6 separate regions of the Homo sapiens genome follow, and regions 2, 3, 4, 5 and 6 are each linked to region 1. Evidence: promoter capture Hi-C in human tissues and cell types (Jung and others, 2019). All regions are on one chromosome and are shown on one strand. The core of a region is centred on a gene start or on the middle of the fragment in contact, and the rest is flanking DNA. Distances in the headings are between cores, read along the strand shown. Region 1 holds the start of AXIN2 (axin 2). Region 2 overlaps CEP112 (centrosomal protein 112). Region 3 overlaps CEP112 (centrosomal protein 112). Region 4 has its middle 110 kb from the start of RGS9. Region 5 overlaps CEP112 (centrosomal protein 112). Region 6 has its middle 160 kb from the start of LINC02563.

The links. The method cuts DNA at HindIII sites, captures the fragments that hold promoters and counts their contacts. A contact is called where the count stands out against the background at its distance.
Region 2: a contact is called between a fragment that was not itself captured here and the fragment with the promoter of AXIN2 in region 1, in 2 of the 25 tissues and cell types used here (H1 embryonic stem cells and IMR-90 fibroblasts).
Region 3: a fragment that was not itself captured here is called in contact with the fragment with the promoter of AXIN2 in region 1 in 1 of the 25 tissues and cell types used here (heart left ventricle).
Region 4: a fragment that was not itself captured here is called in contact with the fragment with the promoter of AXIN2 in region 1 in 1 of the 25 tissues and cell types used here (H1 embryonic stem cells).
Region 5: a fragment that was not itself captured here is called in contact with the fragment with the promoter of AXIN2 in region 1 in 2 of the 25 tissues and cell types used here (aorta and heart left ventricle).
Region 6: a fragment that was not itself captured here is called in contact with the fragment with the promoter of AXIN2 in region 1 in 1 of the 25 tissues and cell types used here (spleen).

What each region holds. Positions count from the first base shown.
Region 1 is chr17:65,559,809-65,563,604 of GRCh38, forward strand. AXIN2 (axin 2) reads right to left here and starts at 1,840. Exons shown (of 11, transcript NM_004655.4): 1 at 1,642-1,840. RefSeq lists a silencer at 1,854-2,003. The HindIII fragment of the contact is 24,248 bases long and covers 1-3,796 here.
Region 2 is chr17:65,954,274-65,958,069 of GRCh38, forward strand. The region is part of intron 18 of CEP112 (centrosomal protein 112); the gene reads right to left. Among named protein-coding and RNA genes, the nearest start is that of CEP112, 240 kb to the right of the region's middle. The HindIII fragment of the contact is 5,186 bases long and covers 1-3,796 here.
Region 3 is chr17:65,883,636-65,887,431 of GRCh38, forward strand. The region is part of intron 20 of CEP112 (centrosomal protein 112); the gene reads right to left. All of the region lies in intron 1 of LOC105371867 (a long non-coding RNA gene), which reads left to right. Among named protein-coding and RNA genes, the nearest start is that of CEP112, 310 kb to the right of the region's middle. The HindIII fragment of the contact is 5,519 bases long and covers 1-3,796 here.
Region 4 is chr17:65,241,515-65,245,310 of GRCh38, forward strand. No RefSeq gene overlaps it. Among named protein-coding and RNA genes, the nearest start is that of RGS9, 110 kb to the left of the region's middle. The HindIII fragment of the contact is 4,622 bases long and covers 1-3,796 here.
Region 5 is chr17:65,854,861-65,858,656 of GRCh38, forward strand. The region is part of intron 20 of CEP112 (centrosomal protein 112); the gene reads right to left. Among named protein-coding and RNA genes, the nearest start is that of AXIN2, 300 kb to the left of the region's middle. RefSeq lists an enhancer at 1-1,197. The HindIII fragment of the contact is 7,184 bases long and covers 1-3,796 here.
Region 6 is chr17:65,298,511-65,302,306 of GRCh38, forward strand. No RefSeq gene overlaps it. Among named protein-coding and RNA genes, the nearest start is that of LINC02563, 160 kb to the right of the region's middle. The HindIII fragment of the contact is 6,261 bases long and covers 1-3,796 here.

The DNA.
Region 1 (3,796 bases), core at 590-3,089:
CCAGGGACCCCGGATCTGGGATGGGTGCACGCTGAACCCGACCAGAGCCTCGAGCCGCGGGGCTGGGCGGCGCGGCCCACGGAGAAGTGGGGCTGCCGTTGGCACCGCGCTACCCGGGCGGTGGGAGGTGGAGCGGCCCCGTTACCTGGAAGACGAAGGCCGCCGAAGCCAGGCTCTCATGTCCTCCGAGCCCCTCCGGCCCGGTCCCCCGGCCCAAATGCAACTGAACGCCTCCAGAGCCCTGGCGGGCACACCTCGAGGCCGGAACCCCGGGACACGCCAGCAGCGCCCCGAGCCCGGGCGGGGGGTCGGTCCCCGGCGCCGCCGTTTGCAGAGGCGCCCGCAGAAAAAGCACAGAAAGCAGCAGCCTAGTCCAGAAATGGCGACGCGCGGAGTCTCTGCCTCTCCGCAAAAGGGGCCGGGGCGGCCACGGGCGAGGGGCCCGGGCCGGGAGGAGGGACGCGAGGGACACGGGCGCCCCGGACTTGGGCCGGTCCTGCGCGCAGACTGAGCCTCCGCCAGCGCTGTGGGCCCCTTAGCGCGGACCCGCGGCAGGGAGGGGAAAAGGGGAGGGGGAAGAGAAGTAGGAGGAGAGGATGGGGCGGAGGAGAGGCGGGGGGCGGGGGAGGGCAAGCGGGGGGCGCCGCTACCCTTTCATCCCACCTCCCAAAGGCACTCCCGCGCGCACTCACACGCCGACTCACATCCATAACCGCGACAGCGACGCGACCCCCGGGGGGTATCTGCCCCCTCTCCGCCCCCGCCACTGCCGCCACTCGGATAAGTCTCCTCTCTGGGCCCCCCGCCAACCCGGTCACCGCGCTGGGGAGGGGGCTCCGGCGCAGGGCGCGCAAGGCTGCCCGGCCAAGCCCCCCGGAACGCTGGGCGCCGGGTCCGCCGCTCCCCTCCGCGCCGGCCCCTAGCGCGCCCCGAAATAGCCGGCCTGCCAACTTCAAAGGGCCGCCCCGCACATCAAAGCGCGCGGTCCGCCCGGCCGCCTCGGCCTCGGCACTCACCATTGATCCCCGCGCGCGCTCGGCGGCGAGACCTCGCAGGCGCCCCTGGCAGGGGCCCGGCCCCGGCCCCCGGCTCGGCTCGCGGCGGCAGCCCCGGGCCCCCCCGGGCCGGCCGCGGCGTCGGGGAACATGGGGAGTCGTGCGGCGGGGGAGGGGGTGCGGGAAACAACAATCCCGGGTTCAGAGCGAAAGCCACCGGCCGGGGAGGGGGAACGGCGCGCCCCGCCGCCCCTTTTATGCAAAAGATCCGAGCGGGCCTCCGCCCCCGCCCGGCCCGGCTTTCAACGCAGGTCCTGTTTCCAGCAGTCACTCGGCGCACCAAATGTCCTCCGGGCGCTTCCAACAAAAACTGCGCTGTGGATTTAACTGTGCACTTCAAAGGCGCGAGCCGAGCGCACGGTCCTGAAAGGGAGGTACGCGCCGGCCGCGCCCCGGGCCGCCCCCCGCAGCCCCGCCACCGCTCCGCAGGGCCGCCCCGCCCGCGCCCCCCTCCAGGCCCGGCCTCCGCCTGGCCGGGCCCCCTCCCGCCCCCCGCGCCCACGCCGCGGCTCGGCGCGACCTCGCCCCCTGTAAGAGGGGGGCTTTCTTTGAAGCGGCTCCGCTGGGGCCGAGCTTCCACCCCCACCTTTTACAGCAGGGCCTTCGGCGGGCGCCTCGGCCGCCGGGCGGCCCCGAAATCCATCGCTCTGAGGGGTTATTTTTATTTCCCGGCTCTCGGGCTGTTACTGAGTTGCCAGGACCTTATCAAAGCGCAGCCGGCTCCAGCCGACTCCCCCGGGCCAGGCTCGCGGAGCCAGTGATCCCGCCGCGCCAATCACAGCCGCGCTCGGCCGGCCCGCGCCGCCCGCCTTAAAGGGACAGCGCCCCGCGCCCGCCCCGCCCCGCCCCGGCCCGCCCCCGCCGCACGCTCCGCTCCCGCGTTAACCCTTCCCCGGCCTCTCCTCCGCCCCCTGCCAGCCCCCCGCGGCCCCGAGGGCATTCTCAGCCCGAGTTCTGATTTCTTCTTTTAAGTTCTCCGGCCTCTTTGCTCCCGCCTCCTCCCCCTGCCTGCCCTCGCTCTCCCCGGCTCTGGAATGCAACAGTTTCTGGTAGCATTATGGCCATCGCAAGAACTGCAAGCAAGCAGATTTTTTTTTTTCTATCATCAAACGCTTTTCTACCTCTATTCAAGTTTCCCTGGGAATTTGGGCTTGGAGGACTTTATAAAGGGAGTTCCGGCCCTGGGGTTGGCTGGCCCGCTGTCATAGGGCGGACTCGGGCCCAGCCGCTGGAGGCGTGTGCATGCCTGTGCGCGCTTGTGCACGTGCATCTGAGTTCGGGTAAATATAGGACTGCAGTTGGTGGATGAATTGCGTTTGTGCATGTGTGAAAGTGGGGTGTGAATCCGCCAGTATAGGCCTGAGTGCTAACACCAGTTAGGAGGCATACCTCAGTGCCCTGAAGACCTAGGTCCAGCTTCCTAACCTGCTGGCCATAAGACCCTCGTAGCGGCACACATTGGCCATCTCTCCCAAACAACTGCATACCCGTTACTCTTCCAAAGTCCCCTCTTCTGCCATATGTTACATATTAAACCGATAGGAATATCTTTTTTCCCACTCCAAACGACAAGGCATGCATGCCGTTTTAATGTATCGAAAACTCCTCACCCCATTGTCACCTTTGAATTTCTCCCACATTTGCCCAAAAACGTTTATAAGGCACACACAACCTTCTCTTCTCCGTTAAAATGAGAAAATATGTCACAAACCCAGAGCATTGTGTATTTATTCTGCTGCTGCTATAGAATGATTCCTTATGTTATGAGCGAATAATTAACTTTTCTTCCTTTTAAAAAACAAAGGGCCGGGGACGGTGGCTCATGCCTGTAATCCCAGCATTTTGGGAGGCCCATGCTGGAGGATCATCTGAGGTCAGGAGTTCGAGACCAGCCTGCCTAATATGGCGAAACCCCGTCTCTACTAAAAATACAAAAATCAGCCGGGTGTGGTGGCACGTGCCTGTAGTCCCAGCTACTCGGGAGGCTGAGGCAGGAGAATCGCTTGAACCTAGGAGACGGGGGTGGGGGGGTTGCAGTGAGCCAAGATGGCACCACTGCACGCCAGGCTGGGTGACAAAGCGAGACTCCCTCAAAAAAAAAAAAAAAAAACACACACACACACACACATAAAGGTGTGAACCAAAGAGATCCAAGAAGTGAAAGGCAGAGTCCTGGCCTCAGAGCTGTGCAAGGCTCTTACTCTCCAACTTAATGGATGACGAGCCCTTTTAAATGCGAGATGGCCTGTCATTAGGCCTTCAGAACTTTAAAACATGCAAGAATTGTGGCTCTATCTAGGTATCCATAGAAAAAGAGAAGGAAGAGGCTGGGTGTGGTGGCTCACCCGTGTAATCCCAGCACTTCGGGAGGCCAAGGCAGGCGGATCACCTGAGGTCAGGCATTCGAGACCAGCCTGGCCAACATAGTGAAACCCTGTCCCTACTAAAACTACAAATATTAGCCAGGCGTGGTGGGGGGCGCCTGTAGTCCCAGCTACTCGGGAGGCTGAGGCAGGAGAATCATTTAAACACAGGAGGTTAAGGTTGCAGTGAGCCTGGGCGACAGAGCAAGACTCCATCTCAAAAAAAAAAAAGAAAAGAAAAAAAGAGGAGGAAGATCCACCACCCATGATCTGCTGGAAAGGGGCAGGTGGCAGGACTGTGCGCCACCTGCCCTCAGCCTAAGGGACTGTGACAAGGGACTAGAAAGCTCTTAGACTTTCTAGTCTAAGACTCTGGAC
Region 2 (3,796 bases), core at 590-3,089, 390 kb after region 1:
TTAGGAAGCCTCATTCCTAGGGGAAGGGGGAGCCTCATTCCAAATCACCACATCAAGGGAGCACCCCATAGGACAAAAGAATCTGAACAGCAGCAAACCCCAGATCTTCCCTCTGACATAGTCTACCCAAATAAGAAGGAACCAGAAAAAAAATTCTGGTAATATGACAAAACAAGATTCTTTAACTCCTCCAAGAGATCATACCACCTCACCAGCAATGGATCCAAGCCAAGATGAAATCTCTGAATTGCCAGAAAAAGAATTCAGAAGGTCAATTATTAAGCGAATCAAGGAGGCATCAGAGAAAGGTGAGGTTCAACATAAAGAAATCAAAAACATGATACAGAATACAAAAGAAGAGTTCTTCAGTGAAATAGACAGCATATATAAAAAACAATCATAATGTCTGGAAATCAAGGACACACTCAGAGAAATGCAAAATGCACTGGAAAATCTCAGTAATAGAATTGAACAAGCAGAAGAAAGAACCTCAGAGCTCAAAGACAAGGCTTTCAAATTAACCCAATCCATCAAAGATGAAGAAAAAAGATTTTTAAGAAATGAACAAAGCCTCCTAGAAGTTTGGGACTAAGTTAAACATCCAAACCTAAGAATAATTGGTGTTCCTGAGGAAGATGAGAAAGCTAAAAGTTTGGAAAACATATTTGAGGGAATAATTTAGGAAAACTTCCCCAGCCTTGCTAAAGGCCTAGACATGCAAATACAAGAAGCACAAAGAACACATGGGAAATTCATCACAAAAAGATCATCGCCTAGGCACATAGTCATCACGTTATCTAAAGTCAAGACAAAGGAAAGAATCTTAAGGGCTGTGAGCCAAAAGTATCAGGTAGCCTAGAAAGGTAAACCTATCAAATTAACAGCAGACTTCTTGGCAGAAACCCTAAAAGCTGGCAAGGAGTGGGGTCTTATTTTTAGTTTCCTTAAACAAAACAATTATTAGCCAAGAATTTTGTATCCAGCGAAAGTAAGCTTTATAAATGAAGAAAAGACATAGTCTTTTCCAGAAAACAAATGCGGAGAGAATTCGCCAATACAAAGCCACCACTAAATGAACTGCTAAAAGGTGTTCTAAATCTTCAAACAAATCCTCTAAATACACCAAAGCATAAATCTCACAGGACCTATATAACAATAACATAATTAAAAAACAGTAGGTATTCAGGCAACAAATGGCACGATGAATAGAATAATACCTCACATCTCAATACTAACATTGAATGTAAATGGCCTAAATGCACCACCTAAAAGATACAGAATGGCAGAATCGATAAGAATTCACCAACCAAATTTCTGCTGTCATCAGTAGACTCACCTAACACATAAGGACTCACATAAACTTACAGTAAAGGGGTAGAAAAAGATATTCCATGTAAATAAACACCAAAAGCGAGCAGGAGTAGCTATTCTTATATCAGACAAAACAAACTTTAAAGCAACTGCAGTTAAAGAAGACAAACAGGGACATTATATAATGGTAAAAGGACTAGTCCAACAGGAAAATATCACAATTCTAAATATGAATGCACCTAACACTGGAGCTCCCAAATGTATAAAACAATTACTACTAGACCTAAGAAATGAGACAGGTGGCAATGCAATAATAGTGGGGGAGTTTAATACTCCACTGACAGCACTACACAGGTCATCAAGACAGAAAGTCAACAAGAACAATGAACTTAAACTATACCCTACAACAAATGGACTTAACAGATATTTACAGAACATTCTACCCAACAACTGCAGAATATACATTCTATTCAGAAGGACATGGAACATTCCCCAAGATAGACCATAACAGGCCACAAAACGAGTCTCAGTAAATTTAAGAAAATCGAAATTATATCAAATACTGGTGGGAATGTAAAGTAGTACAACCACTATGGAAAACACTGTAGAGATTCCTTAAAGAACTAAAAGTAGATCTACCATTTGATTCAGCAATCCCACTTCTAGGTGTCTACCCAGAGGAAAAGAAGTCATTATATGAAAAAGATACTTGCACATGCATGTTTATAGCAGCACAATTTGTAATTGCAAAAATATGGAACCAGCCCAAATGCCCGTAAGTCAACGAGTGGATAAAGAAATTATGATATATATACATACATACATACACACACACACACACACACACACACCATGGAATACTACTTGGTCATAAGAAGGAACAAAATAATGGCATTCACATCAACCTGGATGTTACTGGAGACCATTATTCTAAATCAATGGAAAACCAAACATCGTATGTTCTTACTCATAAGTGGGAGCTAAGGTATGAAGACACAAACACATAAGAATGATACAATAAACTCTGGGGACTCAGGGGGAAGACTTTGGGTGGGGGAGGTGAGGGTTAAAAGACTATACATTGAATACAGTATACACCGCTAGGGTGATGGGTGCACCAAAATCTCAGTAATCACCACTAAAGAAATTATTCATGTAACCAAGCACCACCTGTGCCCCAAAAACCTATTGAAATAAAAAAATAAAAAATTTAAAAATATATACATAAAAATAAAAATGTTAAACTTGATCAGCTATTCCACTCCTAGGTACAGTAGTCCCTCCTTATATGTTCTAAGACCCTCAGTGGATGTCTGAACTTTGGATAGTAACAAACCCTATATGCACTATGGTTTTTGCTATATAGCTGCATTGTATAGGGCAGGTAGGGTATACAGCATGGATATGCTGGATAAAAGGATGAGTCATGCCTTGGGTAGGACAGAGCAGGACGGCATGAGATTTCATCATGTTACTAAGAACAGTGCACAATGTAAACCTTATGAATTCTTTATTTCTGGAATTTTCCATTTAATATTTTTGGACTGTGGTTGATGGAAGGTAACTGAAACCATGGAAAGTGAAACTTTGGATAAGGTGGGACTACTGTACTTATTGGAATAAAATGGAAACATATATCTACAAAAGTAAACGTAAAAAAATAAAACGCTAAAAAAGAAAAAGTCAAAATATAGCTGTCATATAATTTGTTAGTTACACCCCATTTGGATTTTACCCATTGACCTGTCAGAGATGGAGAAAAATATATGAAAACATCCCATGACTATCTATGTCCATTTCTCCATGTGTTCCTAACATCTTTTCATATTTCGATTGAGTACTCTTGCCTTTAGCATGCAAAAATATATCCCTTTGTCCAGTTTATTGACTTGTATTGATTTAATTTGTATGATAGTGTTACAATCCTACTTTCCTTTTTTTCTGAATATAAGTGATATATTTTCATCATCCATTTATTCTAACTTTTGTGTTAACTTTATTTTAGTTATTAGTTTTATAAATAGTATATTTATGGATTTCAGTCTTCTAATCAATACCATTTTACTAGAAAAATTTAACCTATTAATGTTTATTATTACAATTATATACTCTATCTTATTTTGGACATTTTGTTGTATTTCTGCTTCTGTTCCTTTGGCAGCCTCTCCTCTCAAGCTTTGCTTTTTAACTTTTCAAGACTTTTATGAGAATGTACAACTTGTTAATTTTATTAATGCTCATATTTAAACATTACAAAATTATTTTTACCTACATTTCCCTAATTTTAAGAATCTTATGAGTCTCACATATTTATGACAAAGAGTTTTAGTATATTTTGCTTCTCCAACTCTTGCTATTCATCTACTTTTGATCCTTGTTAATGTAATCTAGGGATACAAATTCAAGTTGTTAATACATTTGTATTTTCTGTTTTATATACCTTCCTTTTCAAAAAATCAATTAATATTAGAATTCTATTCTTAAG
Region 3 (3,796 bases), core at 547-3,046, 320 kb after region 1:
GGATTACAGGCGTGAGCCACCGTGCCCAGCCAGAAGTTTATATTTTACTCTAAGTGCAAGCTATGAAAGGATTTTAAGCAGGGGAGTTTTCTAACCCAATGTACATTTTGAAAAAGATCATCATGTCTGTTGAGAAAAATAAGAGATAAGGCAAGATTATCAGTTATAAGATTACATAGAGGCCTGGACTAGAGGAGTGGGTGGCAGTGAATAAAGTGAATGGATTGGAGATCAATTTGGGGGACTGAATCTATAGAATTTACTGACAGGTTAAGAGAAAGGAAAAAAATCAAGAATTATTTCCAAGTTCTGCCTTGAGCACTGAATGTACGGTACATAGGGAGGTTGGGAGGGAGAGGCTTCAGTTCTGGACCTATGAAGTTTGAGGTGTTTGTGAACAAGCTAATAGAAGATGTCAAGAGCACAGAACACAGATGAGAGACGGGAACTTGAAGGTTATTAGCATATAGTTGTTAAGGCCACTGAAATGCAGGTAATCACTTAACAGAAACATGAATACAGAAAAAAAAGTGGGGGTAGACTCCAGTGTTCAACGTGAAACAGAGGAGCTAGTGGAGAAAACAGAAACTAACGTGGAGAAGTAGAAGTGGAAGAAGCAGGAGGAAAACTGGGAAGATACAGATAATTTGGTAAGACAGCATGAAAGCGTTATTTGCAGTGATGAATATCTAGCTACCTGGTGAAAAGCAATGAAGACTAGCTAGTCAGGGTAATAAAAAAGAGGGAACTAAAACAGAATTACAGAGTGAACAGAATTATACTGTGAGAAATCCAACTTCTTCCATGTAATTCAGTAAACTCTTACATATCTACAGAAAATATGTAAGGAGTAGGTAAAATATATTTCCTGATACATCCTATACAAAAGTGTCTTATTTCAGGTTTTCTTCTAAAGAGGGAAAGACAAGTCTATGAAACATTCTAGAATATGAGGTAGGCTATAGACAGTCATCTATAGGACTTTTCCCAACAGTTAATGTTTTGCAAATTTAAAACTATACATATTCGGAATTTATTCCAACTATAGTTTGGATATTAGTTTGTAGTTTCTTTTTTTTTTTTCTTTTTTTTTTTTTTTGAGACGGAGTTTTGCTCTTGTTGTCCAGGCTGGAGTGCAAGGGCGCCATCTCAGCTCACCACAACCTCCGCCTCCTGGGTTCAAGCAATTCTCCTGCCTCAGCCTCCTGAGTAGCTGGGATTACAGGCATGTGCCACCACCCTGGCTAATTTTGTATTTTTAGTAGAGACAGGGTTTCTCCATGTTGGTCAGGCTGGTCTTGAACTCCTGACCTCAGGTGATCCACCCTCCTCGGCCTCCCAAAGTGCTGGGATTACAGGTGTGAGCCATCGCGCCCGGCCTAGTTTGTAGTTTCAAATAAAAATCCTATTTGAAGAGCTTGAAAAGAATGTTGTATAATTATTAAGTCTGCACAATTAAATGGTACCTAACCTCCCAAGTAAATGGAAGAACGATTTTTATATTCTGAGAAATAGCAGATTTCTAATATAAAAGCAGGTGCAGATTATCTTGAGAAAATTTTCTAATGGATTGAGATTATTTATACTGATTTATATTTAGAACATTAAAAATTATCACTTTTTACTTTAAAGTGAACTTGGGTTTATCTTCTAGGTTTGTAATGTCCCTAAACTACTCATTCAGTTACTTAACTATTTGGCTGAAGATAATATTTATCATTCAACAGCAACAGGGCAAAGACGATGTTGAAATCTGCTTTCATAAATGACTTTTTTCCAGATCAATAGCAGAGTAAGGGGAACTATTTTAATGCAAAACAAGTCATTGTTTTAAAGTTATGTTGTTTTCCTTTTTAAAAAAAAAACGGTTTGAATTAACTGCCTATGCTTCATTACCCTGCAATGTACTTCAACACATTTACACTGCAAGAAGAATATGTAATAAAAGAGAAGCTGCATCTTCAAATCTTTCTTGTCAAATTTGAAGAGACACCAATCAACCAAACACCTCACTAATAGTCATGAGACTGCTGTTTTAATTAGCTGGTGATATTTCTGACTAAGACTCTCAGATGATGAAACTGTTTTTCCTTGTATTGAACCAGCTTGGCCCAGACTAGCCTGTCCTGCAGTGACAGGTATATTGAATACAAATCAGACAGCACAGCTTTAAATCTGTGTTGCAGCTCTCATTTCCAATTCGAGAACTGTACTATAATCATAAGCTTCTGGTGGATGAAAGGAAATCAGCTCTCTGAATATTAGCTAATGCCACATTTGCAAGTCCTGAAGAGATCTGTGCTGTTAAAAAAAATAGATCATTTCACGTGAACCTATATATATGAATTGCTTTGTACTGCTCAACTGATAGAAGCAATGCCTGTGCTGGGATTAAACCCTTTTCATCATAAAACCTCATCTGGTTCGGAGTCCAAGTCCATCAAACCTTTTCCCTTTAAAGTCCCGCCTTTGGTTCCACATCAATTTATTCAAACCGCAGCTGGGTGGCTGAAAACGAAAGGACAGCATCATTTAAACCAACCATGTTCCTAACTTGAAAGAGGGGCTATAATTAAAAAAATGGGCATAAAAGAATGGAAATGGGATAATATTTTTTAATGGTAGTTCAAAGGCTGACAGATGTCAGAGCCTTTGAAGATGTCAGTACACTGAGTAAGAAGTTGCCATAAAAGAGCTTGCCAGAGAGGTGAAGCAGCTTTTTAATGGCTAAAAAAACCCTTGCAGACACATCCTTGTGTTTTTAATTTGTCAGAGTTTCTGCAGTATTTTCTGATTAATGACACATGATTATAACGGCATAGCAGGCATATTTTTATACTTGGTTAAATGAATAGTTTATTTCACATTCTTTTAGAGCTAGATAAGAATAGGGACACTTTCCTAGGAAGTCCAAAACTATTCTGATTGATTGACATATTTATGCTAATTTTGTGGGACTGGCCCAATTCGGAATTACTATATGTTGCCAGCTTTTGTTCTTTAATAGTCTGTTTGCTAATAACATTACAATTCACATGTGGTAGTTAAAATGCAATTCACTACAGTTTCATTCTTTTCATGTACATGGAACAATATGTGCCTGAATAATTAATTTGTGCACCAAGTCATGTCAAACCAAATTAATGTTTTAAGACATTCCTGAGCTCAATCTACACAACCGCGGGCTGCCATAGGGTTCAGAAGAGAAAGGGTTGCTTAGGGGAAAAAAATGCAGCTATAACTATAATATAACATTAATGCTTACTCAAAAAAACGAGCTGGAATACTATGTGCAAAATGCTGGGGGACACTCTTCTAAGATTTGGGGGAGGGACTTAGAGTATTTCCAAACTATATGCCCTTCTAAATAGTTCTAACATGTCAATTTGATTTGTTCTGTGAAATTGCCCTCACAATATTCATGAATGTTAACCACAAGTCTCTAGTGAGTAGTAGCAAGAAAAAAAAAACAGGTTTCCCCACCAATGGATATGCCTGTAACTTATAACCATGATGAGGTGCAGGGGAGACAGAGTTCATGGCTTTGAAGTGAGACACATTCGGGTTCACATCCTAGCCCTTGCACTTCAGAGCTGCATAGCTTGGGTCTGTCTTCCCACCTGTAAAAACTGAGACAATACATAAGTGCCTCCTCCCAGAAAGCATGTGAAGGTGTCTAGCACGTAATATTGTTCCTTTCTCAAACTACATGATATACAGAAAATTTTAAATTAGGCCATTTTCTGATTGAAAATGTTTATATATCACAAAATCACATTTTAATGAGAATAACCAT
Region 4 (3,796 bases), core at 894-3,393, 320 kb before region 1:
AAATTTCTAAAGGTGATTTTACTGAAACACTAGTCGTGCTGGATTAGGGTGGGCCATAAGCCCAATGACCAGAGTCTTCATATGTAGTGGGAGGACAACACAGAGGCACACAAAGGTAAGAAGTTCATGTGAAGATGGAGGCAGAGATTGGAGTGAGGCAGCTGTAAGCTGTGGAACCCCAGGGATTGCTTGGAGCCATCAGAGGCTGGAAGAGGCAACAAAGGACCCTCCCCTAGCCTCAGAGGGAGCACAGCCCTGCCAAAACCTTGACTTTGGACTTGTAGCCTCCAGAACTAATAGAGAATTAATTTCCGTTGTTTTAAGCCACCTTGTTTGCGGTCCTTTGTTACAGCAGCTCTGGGGAATTCATAAGGTAGGCTTGTATCATAGTTCGATTATTCTCCTACAGATGAACATTGTTTCCAACTTTTCATCAAAACAAATGCTGTTGTAATGAACATCCTTGTACATTCCTCTGTGCGCATCTATAAGTATCTCCCTGGGATGGAAACCAAAGGCCAGGTATGGTGGCTTATGCCTGTAATCCCAGCACTTTGGGAGGCCAAAGTGGGAGGATTGCTTGAGCCCAGGAGTTGAAGATAAGCTTGGGCAACATAGGGGACCCTGTCTCTACACAAAATTTTTCAAAAATTAGCTGTGTGGTGGTGCATGCCTATAGCCCCAGCTACTTGGCAGGCTGAGGTGGGAGGATTGCTTGAGCCTGGGAGGTCGAGGCTGCAGTAAGCTTTGATTGCACCATTGTGCTCCAGTTCCAGCCTGAATGACAGAGTGAGAGCTTGTCTCAAAAAAAAAAAAAAAAAAAAAGGAAAAGAAAAGAAACTAAAAAGAGGAATCGCTGGGTTAGAGTATGCATATTTTAAGACCAATCTTCCATGCCAAATAGTCTTTTTAAAAAATTTATTTTATTATATTTGTTTGTAGAGACAGGGGTCTCCCTATGTTGGCCAGGATGGTCTCAAACTCCTGGGCTCAAGCAATCCTCCCACCTTGGCCTCTCAAAGTGCTGGGATTACAGGCATGAGCCACCATGCCTGGCCACCAAATCACCTTTTTAAAGTCTGTACTAATTTAGATTGCTACCAATAATGCATGTATGAGGATAATCATGCCCTTACATCCTAGCTGGAACTGTTAGGAACACTTTCACATTGTTGGTGCTAGCATTTACTGCAGCAGTGAGACCACGTGGGGCTGAGCACCACATTCTTCTGGAGGCCAAGAATGTTAGGGGCTCTGGTCCTCCTGCAAACTCCTAACCCTGGGAGGACAGAGATGATAAGGATGACCAGAGAGACTGCAGGGCATGAGCCTCCCTGCCTGTCCTCTGGTGTATCCTAGCCTGTGCCAGGTGATTCAGCCTCAGTGGGGCTTTTGGTGCTTGTCTTGTGCCACCAGCATCAGTGGTCCCAGTGTAAAGCTTAACAGGAAATCAGAGAATCTGTTACATTTCACTCTGTATCTTTTTTTTTTTTTGAAACCGGATCTCATTGGTTGCCCAGGCTGGAGTGCAGCGGTGTGATCAGGGTTCACTGCACTTAAACTCCTGGGCTCAGGTGATCCTTCCACCTCGGTCTCCAGTGTAGCTGAGAATATAGGCATGCACCACTATGCCAGGCTAATTTTTTTTTTTTTTTTTGGTAGAGACAGGATTTTTCCATGTTGCTCAGGCTGGTCTCAAACTCCTAGGCTCAAGCGATCTGACTGCCTTGGCCTCCCAAAAGTACTAGGATTACAGGTGTGAGCCACTGCACCAAGCCTGTATTATTTTATTTATTTATTTATTTGTTTGTTTGTTTTTTGAGATGAAGTCTTACTCTGTCGCCCAGGCTGGAGTGCAGTGGCCTGATCTTGGCTCACTGCAACCTCCACCTCCCAGGTTCAAGTGATTCTCCTGCCTCAGCCTCCTGAGTACCTAGGATTACAGGTGCATGCCACCACACCTGGCTAATTTTTATATTTTTAGTAGAGACAGGGTTTCACCATGTTGGCCAGGCTGGTCTCGAACTCCTGACCTCAGTGATCCACCTGTCTCGGCCTCTCAAATTGCTGGGATTACAGGCATGAGCCACCACACCCACCCTGTATTATTTTAATATGTGATTTATCTTTCTGAAAGTTTGTGAAGTCGTTGGGATTGGGGACTATGCAGTCCTCTTTGCATCCCTAGACATAGAAGAGCCTGTTCCTGGAAGGGACGGAAGTGGGAAACTGTTTTAGCCTCCTTGTTGGGGTTCCGCCCTTGAGGCTGCTGGTGCCCTCATGTCTTCCCCAGTAACACATTCTGTCCTGGAAACATAAGTGTGACATCCCACTCCCCTATGGAGTCAGGCTTCAGGATGTCAGTTACCAGGGCAGGTTGGCCTGACCCCAGAAAGTGACTCAGATTCCCCAGGCACACCCTTGTCCCTTGTTGTGGGAAGTCTCACCCCGGAGAGGCTGACTCCAGGGTTGTTGAAATAGAGCAGCCAGGTTCTGCCGATGACTGCTTAAAATTCATGTTGCCATGGTAGCATGGCATTAGGCCACCGGTGATCCTGCTGCACAAAGCTTTGATCTCGGAGAAGGCAGAGTTTCTTTTGCTCTCTAGCTGGTTCTAAGGGGACTGCCTTGGGACCAAGCTTTGGCTTTGCTCCTGGGCCTGGGGATTGTCCTAGAAGCAGAGAACTGGGGACAGCAAGACAGAGAACAAGACCCTCAGAAGTGGACTAAGCCCCGAGACTGCGATTCCAGTCGGAGGGACTTGGCTGGAAACCCTAAGGGCAAGAGATCTGGGTCTGAAGAGAGTGCAGTCAGATAGATCTGTAATGAGGGGATGTATATGCACTGCTTGACTTGAGAGAAAAGTGCAAATGAGATGGTCTGTGTGTGTTTTTAGTAGCAGAGCTAAGAAGAGGGTGGCTTATAAATGGGCTGGCTCAGCATGTCTCAGCATTGTTTGTAACTTACGCATTCATTCAACACCCATTGATTGAGGATATACTATGTTGGTGGTGCCGGAGGATGTGAATGGCTCACATGGCTTCAGTCCCTGAGGACTTTCCCAGCTGTCAGGGCATGAAAATGCACTAAAATAATACAAAGCAGGCTGGACGTGGTGGCTCACACCTATAATCCCAGCACTTTGGGAGGCCAAGGTGGGAGGATCACTTGAGGTCAGGGGTTTGAGACCAGCCTGGCCAACATGGTGAAACCCTGTCTCTACTAAAACTGCAAAAATTAGCCGGGTGTGGTGGCACGCGCCTGTAGTCCCAGCTACTCGGGAGGCTGAGGCAGGAGAATCACTCGAACCTGAGAGGCGGAGGTTGCAGTGAGCCGAGATCGTACCACTGCACTCCAGCCTGGGTGACAGAGCGAGACTCTGTCTCAAAAAAGTAAAAAAATGATAAAAATAAAAAATAAAATAATGCAAAGCAGAATGTGTTCAATTGTCTGGAGATGATGACATTTCAGAGGGAAAGAATCACCCCACCGGTGCAATCAGGGTATCCCTAGATGAATTTGGGTTGGACCTCAAATGACAGAGAGAGAAACAGGAAGCATCTAGTTGGAGGGTAGGGCAAGAACAACAGTGTGGCGAGGGGATGGGGGCAAATGTGAGAACCACAAGGAGTTTGGTTCATTAAAGGGATGGAAGGAGATAATATTGTAAAGGTAGGTTGATCCCAGAGCTGAACTGACTTTAGACTTAATTTGACAGGCCTTGGGGAGCCACAGGAGGATTTTGGGCCTGGCAGTGGCTGATTGGAGCTGCACTTTGAAAAAATGAATCTGGGTG
Region 5 (3,796 bases), core at 524-3,023, 290 kb after region 1:
CAATGCAATCAGATTCTGAAATAGAGGATACATCTTCTAAAAACAGATAGACTTTAGCAGTGACAACAGTTATGTGTTTGGGAGGCAGAACATTCTTTTTTTAAAAAAAAGCTCAGGGATATCAACATGGCAGACAAGGATGGGTTGCTGGCTCCCTTCCCCAAAATCAATCCTGGAGAAAGCACAGGAAGCATGAATCTGAGATACTAATAACTATAACAATAATAAACATAACAAAAGCAAATTTTGAGAAGCTCCTGGGTGGAATAAAGACAGTCCTAAGGGGGTACAGCCTGGGGAAGAAAATAATAGAAAACCGCTGTAAGAAGGTGGGTTGCAGGAATGCTTTACCTTCTGCTCTTGTCTCTCTCTTTTGTAGCCAGGTAAAATCATATCTGTTCCATTACCATGTTGGGAGCAAGAACTCAACATAGTGTTGACATCAGTCAGTCAATACCAAGGAAAGCAAAGCCCTCCTTGGGTGAGGAGTTGAAGAAAACAGGCACAGACTTCTCTGAACTTCCTGGGTATTCCCCCTTCCAAAGGCTTCCCTCCAAACTCCCAGGACTAGTGACTCAGTCATTAGACACTCACTTCCAGGAGCTTAGGTAAATTCCCGACCAGCAGGTTTTCCTGATGAAGTAACTGTGAAAGGGAGTGGTACGGCAATGAAGGGCTCTGTCTTGGGGTTCATAATCTTGTCCTTCTATAAGCTCATCCAACAGGTCAGGGACTAAAGGTGGGCTTCTGCTCTTCCCCAGTCAGGATATCTGATAGTCCCAGGGGAAAATGGGCTCCCTGGCCAAAGTAAATAAACCTGAGGAGCAAAACTACTACCAAAAAGAGACACCTAAATAACATATATTATCTGAAGCAGTATAATTGGAACAGATGAAACAAGAATTTTTTAAGTGCGTAATAGGCCGGGTGTGTTGGCTTATGCCTGTAATCACAGCACTTTGAGAGGCCAAGGCAGGTGGATCACTTGAGCCTAGGAGTTCAAGACCAGCCTTGGCAATATAGTGAGGCTCCTTCTCTACAGATAATACAGAAATGAGTCAGGTGTGGTGGGGTGTGCCTGTAGTCCCAGCTACTCAGGAGGCTGAGGAAAGAAGATCAATTGAGCCCAGGAGGCTGCAGTGAACCGTGGTCATACCCTGTACTCCGGCCTGTGTGACAGAAGGAGATCTTATCTCCAAAAAAAGTCCATAATAAACATACAAATAGTAATATATATATACTTAATATACTGAAAAGTGTAATGGAAGAAGTTACAGACATGAAGCTGCAATTAATGTCATAGAAGAAGGAAAAAGTGAAAATGATAGGAAAAAGAGCAAGTTAGCTAAAGCCAAAGAATAGAATTGCGCATTGGAAGGATGGTAAGATTGAAGAACTCCCTGGGAGGCAGCAGAGAAAGATAATAATACAGAAAATGTAAAAGAAAAGCTAATATTTGTGGAGGACAGAGGAAGTGACAACATCTAAATAATAGAGTCTGAGAAAAATAGAATTGGAAAGATTTTATCCAAGCTCAAGCTGATTTGAAAGTCTGCTTTTTATCACATACTGTATCATCTCAAAGTATTAAGAATTTCTCTTAAGGAAGAGTACATATTTATTGTACTTTATTAATTTGTTATTGTGCGTTTCTATCCCCTAATTTTCACTATGGTTAGTACAAAGTTAACATCCAAAAGCCATAAGTCCATAATGTCTTTTTTTGAAAATTAAAAAATACATACATTTTTATAGATTTGGGAGCATAAGTACAGTTTTGTTACTTGGATATATTGCATAGTGGTAAAATCTGGGCTTTTAGTGTAACTACCAACCAAATATTATACATTGTGCCCACTAGGAAAATCTTTAAAAAATGAGCAAAAATGTTAGTTTTCCAAAAGCAGTGAGACCATCCCAAATCGAGTTTCAATCTCTGTCAATGTAAATCAAAGTATTGTTATGCACATTGTCATCACTGTGTAGATACTGTTCTATATTTTCACACACCCAATTTTAATTTAATTCCCATTTATTAGCATATTTGTCATATTTAGTGGCTCCCTAGTATTTCACCCTTCCAGTACAGGCATATCACAGAGATATTGTGTGTTTGGTTCCCGACCACCTCAATAAAGCAAATATTGCAATGAAGTGAATACTGCGATGAAGCAAATATCTCCATAAAGTGAGTCACATAAATTGGTTGGTTTCCCAGTGCATATAAAAGTTATAGACTATTCAGGAGTGTCTGAGGGAGAGAATACAGTCATGGGTTCTTGGTTTCTGTTTCTGGTTGGGCCAGTAAAGCCCCTTCCTCATCCCTCTTTTCTGCTTATCACTAAAGACAGAAACTTTAAAACCATGGCTTCTGGCTGCTAAAAGCCTAAAGCAAAACAAAACAGAACAACAACAACAAAATAAGGTGGGTTGGACAAGCTTGCAGTTTATTCAGTGAGCATTATGTCTAAAAAACAATGTGCATTCCTTCATTTAAAATACATTATTGCTAAGAAGGGTTAATGATCATCTAAGCCATTCTTAAGTCCTAATCTTTTTGCTGGTGGAGAGTCTTGTCTTGATACTGATGGCTTGCTAACCGAACTCCTGACCTCGTGATCCGCCCACCTCAGCCTCCCAAAGTGCTAGGACTACAGGTGTAAGCCACCACACCTGGTCAATGTTTATTATTTCAATGCATTAATGGAGTAAATTATATTATAGGTTATTTTCAAACGTTACATCAACCTTAGGTTACATTCAATTTTTTCCATAAGATAATATTACTGGATTCAGTTTGCTAATAATTTGCTAATGATTTTTGAGAGACTGACCTGAGGGATTTTTTTTTTTGGACTCTCCTTGGCATATTTTTAAATTGATGTTATGCTAGTCTCATAAATTCAGTTGCTGAATGATGCTACCTTTTTCATCCTCTGAAAGAATCAGTATAAGATGAGTTATTTGTTTCTTAAATATTTAGTGGAACTGGCCAGTAGGGCCATCTGGGCTTGATATTGTATATCTGGAAAACATTTTGACTACTATTTCAATTTTTCTGATGGTTATAGGATGATTCACATTTTCCGGTCTTTTACAGAGTCAGTTTTGGTAAATTTTTATAGTTTAGGAATTTTTCCTCTTCCCCTAAATTTGACATTTGTTGGCATTTATAAATTTCTATGTCCTTGCATTCTCTACAACTTGGTGATTACATACGTTATTTTTATACATTATTGGACTTGATTTGCTAATAATTCCAGATTTGTATGTGTGTGTTCATGAGTGAGTTGGCCTGGAATTTTTATTTCTCTTCTTGTACCAGTCATCTTTTCTATCAATATTACAATCTTTTAAATTGGTTTGAGAGTATTTTTCTCTTTCTCGCTTCTCTGGAAAAGTTTGTAAAAGACTACAGTGACCTGTCCCATGGGAGATTTTTATAGAACTCACCTGTAAAATTATATGAACTCAGTGTTTTCTTTGTTGAAAGATTTTTAACTGTTTTTAAAATTTGCTTAATTATATTAGATTATTTAGTTTCCTGTTTTGTCTTGCGGCATTTTATGTATTCCTGGAAATTTGTCCATTTCACCTGGGTTCTCCAATTATTGGCATAATGCTTTTTTAATATCTTATTTTTTTAATCTCTGATGATCTGGAATATATCCTTTTTAAAATTTAATGTTATTAATATCTCTCTTTTATTGATAACATTACCATAGCTTTATTTTTATTCCCAATATTGTTTATTTGCACTTTGTTCTTTGATCAGTCCTACCAGAAATTGCTTCAT
Region 6 (3,796 bases), core at 924-3,423, 260 kb before region 1:
GTCCAGGCAGGAGACACAAAAATGATCAAAGAGCTGGAAACTGGGCCCTGTAAAGAAAGGTTAAAGGAATTGGAAGTGGTTTGCCTGGAAAAAGCGAGGGAGAGTCTGAAGCACCCAAATTCAGAGATGAACCACACAAACCTCACGTTAGCCTCGGTTTTCCTGCCACTTGCAGCTTTCATTTGCAGGGTCAAATGGAAGCAATAACCAATCGTTCACTTTGATCGTGAACTTATGATGCTCCCAGCTTTCTCAGTACTTGGCGTGGTTATCTCATTTCATTGTCATGACCGTCCTATGACTGTCCCTGCCTTTCAGATGAAGAAGCGGAGGCCCAGAAGAGAAGTTATGTAACTAGCTTGAGTTCATTCCACTAGGGAGTGATGGGTGCAGGCTACAGACTCTAGGCTAGGGACACTAGGGAGTGATGGGTGCAGGCTAGGGTGCACACTAGGGAGTGATGGGTGCAGAAGATGCTTCAGACTACATCTCCAACAGCAAGTGTTTTTATGGGTGTCCTTTTTTTTTTTTTTTTTTAGACAGGATCTTAGAGTTTCATTCTGTCACCAAAGCTGGAGTGTAGTGACGATCATGGCTCACTGCAGTCTTGAACTCCTGGGCTCAAGCAATCCTCCCACCTAGGCCTCCCAAGCAGCTGAGAACACAGGTGCTTGCCACCACACTTGGCTAATTTTTTAAAATTTATTTTTTGTAGAGTTGGAGTCTTGCTATGTTGGCCAGGCTAATCTCGAACTTCTGACTTCAAGCCATCCTCCTACTTCAGCCTCCCAAAGTGCTGGGATTACAGGCATGAGCTGCCATGCCCAGCCTACAAGTACCCTTTAAAAATGTAGCCTCATGTCATACAGTACAGCATGAAATTTGCAGGTGATTGTTAACAACAAAAACTCCTTAAATGACTGAAGGCATTGAGCTGTCACCAGGTTTGGGTTCAGCAATGTGCCCTATACAATGTAATATCATCACTCCCCCTGTTACCTCAGGTGTTGTGGGCTCAATTGTGTGTCTCCTCCCCCCACCCCCAAATTTTTGTGTTGAAGTCCTAACCTCCAGTACTTCAAGTTGTGACTGCATTTGGAGATACAGTCACTGAAGAGGTAATTAAGTTAAAATGAGGTCATTAGAGCAGGTCCTAATTTACTATGACTGATGTCTTTATAAGAAAAGGAGGTTGGGACACAGATACCCTCAGAGTAAAGATCATATGAAAGCAGAGGGAGGCAGCCAGGCGCAGTGGCTCACGCCTGTAATCCCAGCACTTTGGGAGGCCTTGGCGGGTAGATCACTTGAGGTCAGGAGTTTGAGATCAGCCTGGCCAACATGGCGAAACCCCATCTCTACTAAAAATACAAAAATTAGCCAGGCATTGGTGGCTCATGCCTGTAGTCCCAGCTACTCGAGAGGCTGAGGCTGGAGAATTGCTTGAGCCTGGGAAGTGGAGGTTGCAGTAAGCCAAGATCATGCCACTGCACTCCAGCCTGGGTGACAGAGCAAGACCCTGTCTCAAAAAAAAAAAAAAAAAAAGAAAAGACAGGGAGAAGACAGCTGGCTGAGCCACGGAGAGAGACCTCAGAAGAAACCAACCCTGCTGACACCTTGATCTTGGACTTCCAGCTTCCAGAACTGCAAGATAATAAATTTCTGTTGTTGAAGCCACCCAGACTGTGGTACTTTATTATGGCAGTCCCTTACAAACAATACACTGGGCAATCCTCAAAATAACCTCTTATTAACCCCCTTTTAAAAAAGAAGAAACAGAGACTTGGAGGGTCTTAGTCACTTGCCCACTGTCACACAGAGAGCTGGTGGCAGAAATAGATTCACATCCCTTTCTTGTCATTCAGAGTCCCGTGCTCCTTTAACGTCCCTCCAGAACATAGTGGAGACAAAGAAACACAAACAGTGGGCAACATTTGCCTGGAAGGTCAAACCCTTGCTGACATAGGCTGTGTTTCCATCCTGCAGCTCAGCAGACCTTCCCATCCCCTAATGTGGAGACACAGAGTTTTATTTAATAGGGAACCCAAACATGGGCAGGAAGACCCTGTCAATTGCAAAGCAAACAGGGGCAGAAAGGCTTGGCAAGGTGCTCTTAAAATGCAAGTCTGGGGCCAGGTGAAGTGGCTCATGCCTGTAATCCCAGCACTTTGGGAGGCTGAGTAGGGTGGATCACTTGAGGTCAGGAGTTCAAGACCAGCCTGGCCAACATGGCAAAACCCCGTCTCTACTAAAAATACAAAAATTAGCTGGGCATGGTGGTGCATGACTGTAATCCCAGCTACTTGGGAGGCTGAGGCACGAGAATTGCTTAAACCCAGGAGGTGGAGGTTGCAGTGAGCTGAAATCACACCATGGCACTCCAGCCTGGATGACCGAGAGAGACCCTGCCTCAAAAAGAAATAAAAATTTAAAAATAAAATAAATGCAAGTCTGAAAAAGCCTTACTGGTTCCTCAGGGGGATAATGCAATGCGTCAGTGCATCTTGAACTATAAGAAAATTCCTTCAGATGAAAGAAGAACATGCTGGCCATCACCATGCTAGGAAAAATGTGGATTTAGGCCTTCATAATCAGACCTCCACTTCAGTACAGGGGCATGATCACCACTGAATTAATAGTAAAAGATGATGAAGTTCCACAGCCCAGCTGCAGCTCTACAGGTCAAGGTAGGAGATGGAGTCTACAGAAGAAGGCAGTCCTAGGTGCTAAGGGCTCTAAGGGGCCCCCAGAGATCATCAGGATCTGGCTTCCCTGGAGGAAGCAGGTTTCTGGATGGGGAAGTGGCATCGGGAGGGGGTTGTGGGATTTGCTCATAGATCTTGGATCGCAGGAGATCCAATGTCCTCTGATTTCTGCCCATGAAGGGAACAGTCTTTGCATACCACAGTGATGACTACCACTTATGTCAGGTGCTGTGAGTACCAAGTCCTTTATATCTATTTTATTTCAAGGCTTGGTAACATTTCAAGATATTCTTATTTTACATGGGAAGAAACAGAAGCACAGAGAGGTAACTGAACAGAAGCCACAGCAATCATAAAAAAGGGCAGACCCAAGCCTTGAAACCAAGTCCGCTTTATTCTAAGCTTCCTGCCCTCTAAAATATGCCGTGTTTTCTCCTGACTCCCTATCTTTTCTTTGCTTTTCAACCTTCCCAGTGTTCAGCCTGACGCTATACCCAGTATGGGTGCCCAGTTCTGCTGAATCAAATAACAGCTATGGTAAAACACAACCCAAAGAATCCATCTCTCCATTGGACCAAAGCATTATTTGAGTGTTTCTCAAAGTGCCCCTTGGGATGCATTGTTCCTCACCAAAAGTGTTCTATGGTCAGATAAAAGTGGGAGCCATGCATATTACAGCCCCTTCTCTGAGAACCAGAAAGCACAACAGAGTGTGGAAGGAGCAGAGGATGCCGGATGAACTCAGCCCAGCCCAGCCCAGCCTTTGACTTCAGGAGGAGCTCAGCAAATATTTATTGACCAAACAAGTGAATGAATGAATGACCGTGTTGAAACATGTTCATTTGGCTTACCTGAGTGTATTAGCCTGCTCAGGCTGCCATAACAAAATACGTTAGACCTGGTGGCCTCAACAACAGAAATTTCTTTTTCTTTTCTTTTCTTTTTTTTTTTTTTTTTTGAGACAGAGTCTTGCTTTGCTGCCCAGGCTGGCGTGCAGTGGTGCAATCTTGGCTCACTGCAACCTCCACCTCCCAGTTTCAAGTGATTCTCCTGCCTCAGCCTCCTGAGTAGCTGGGAATATAGGCATGTGC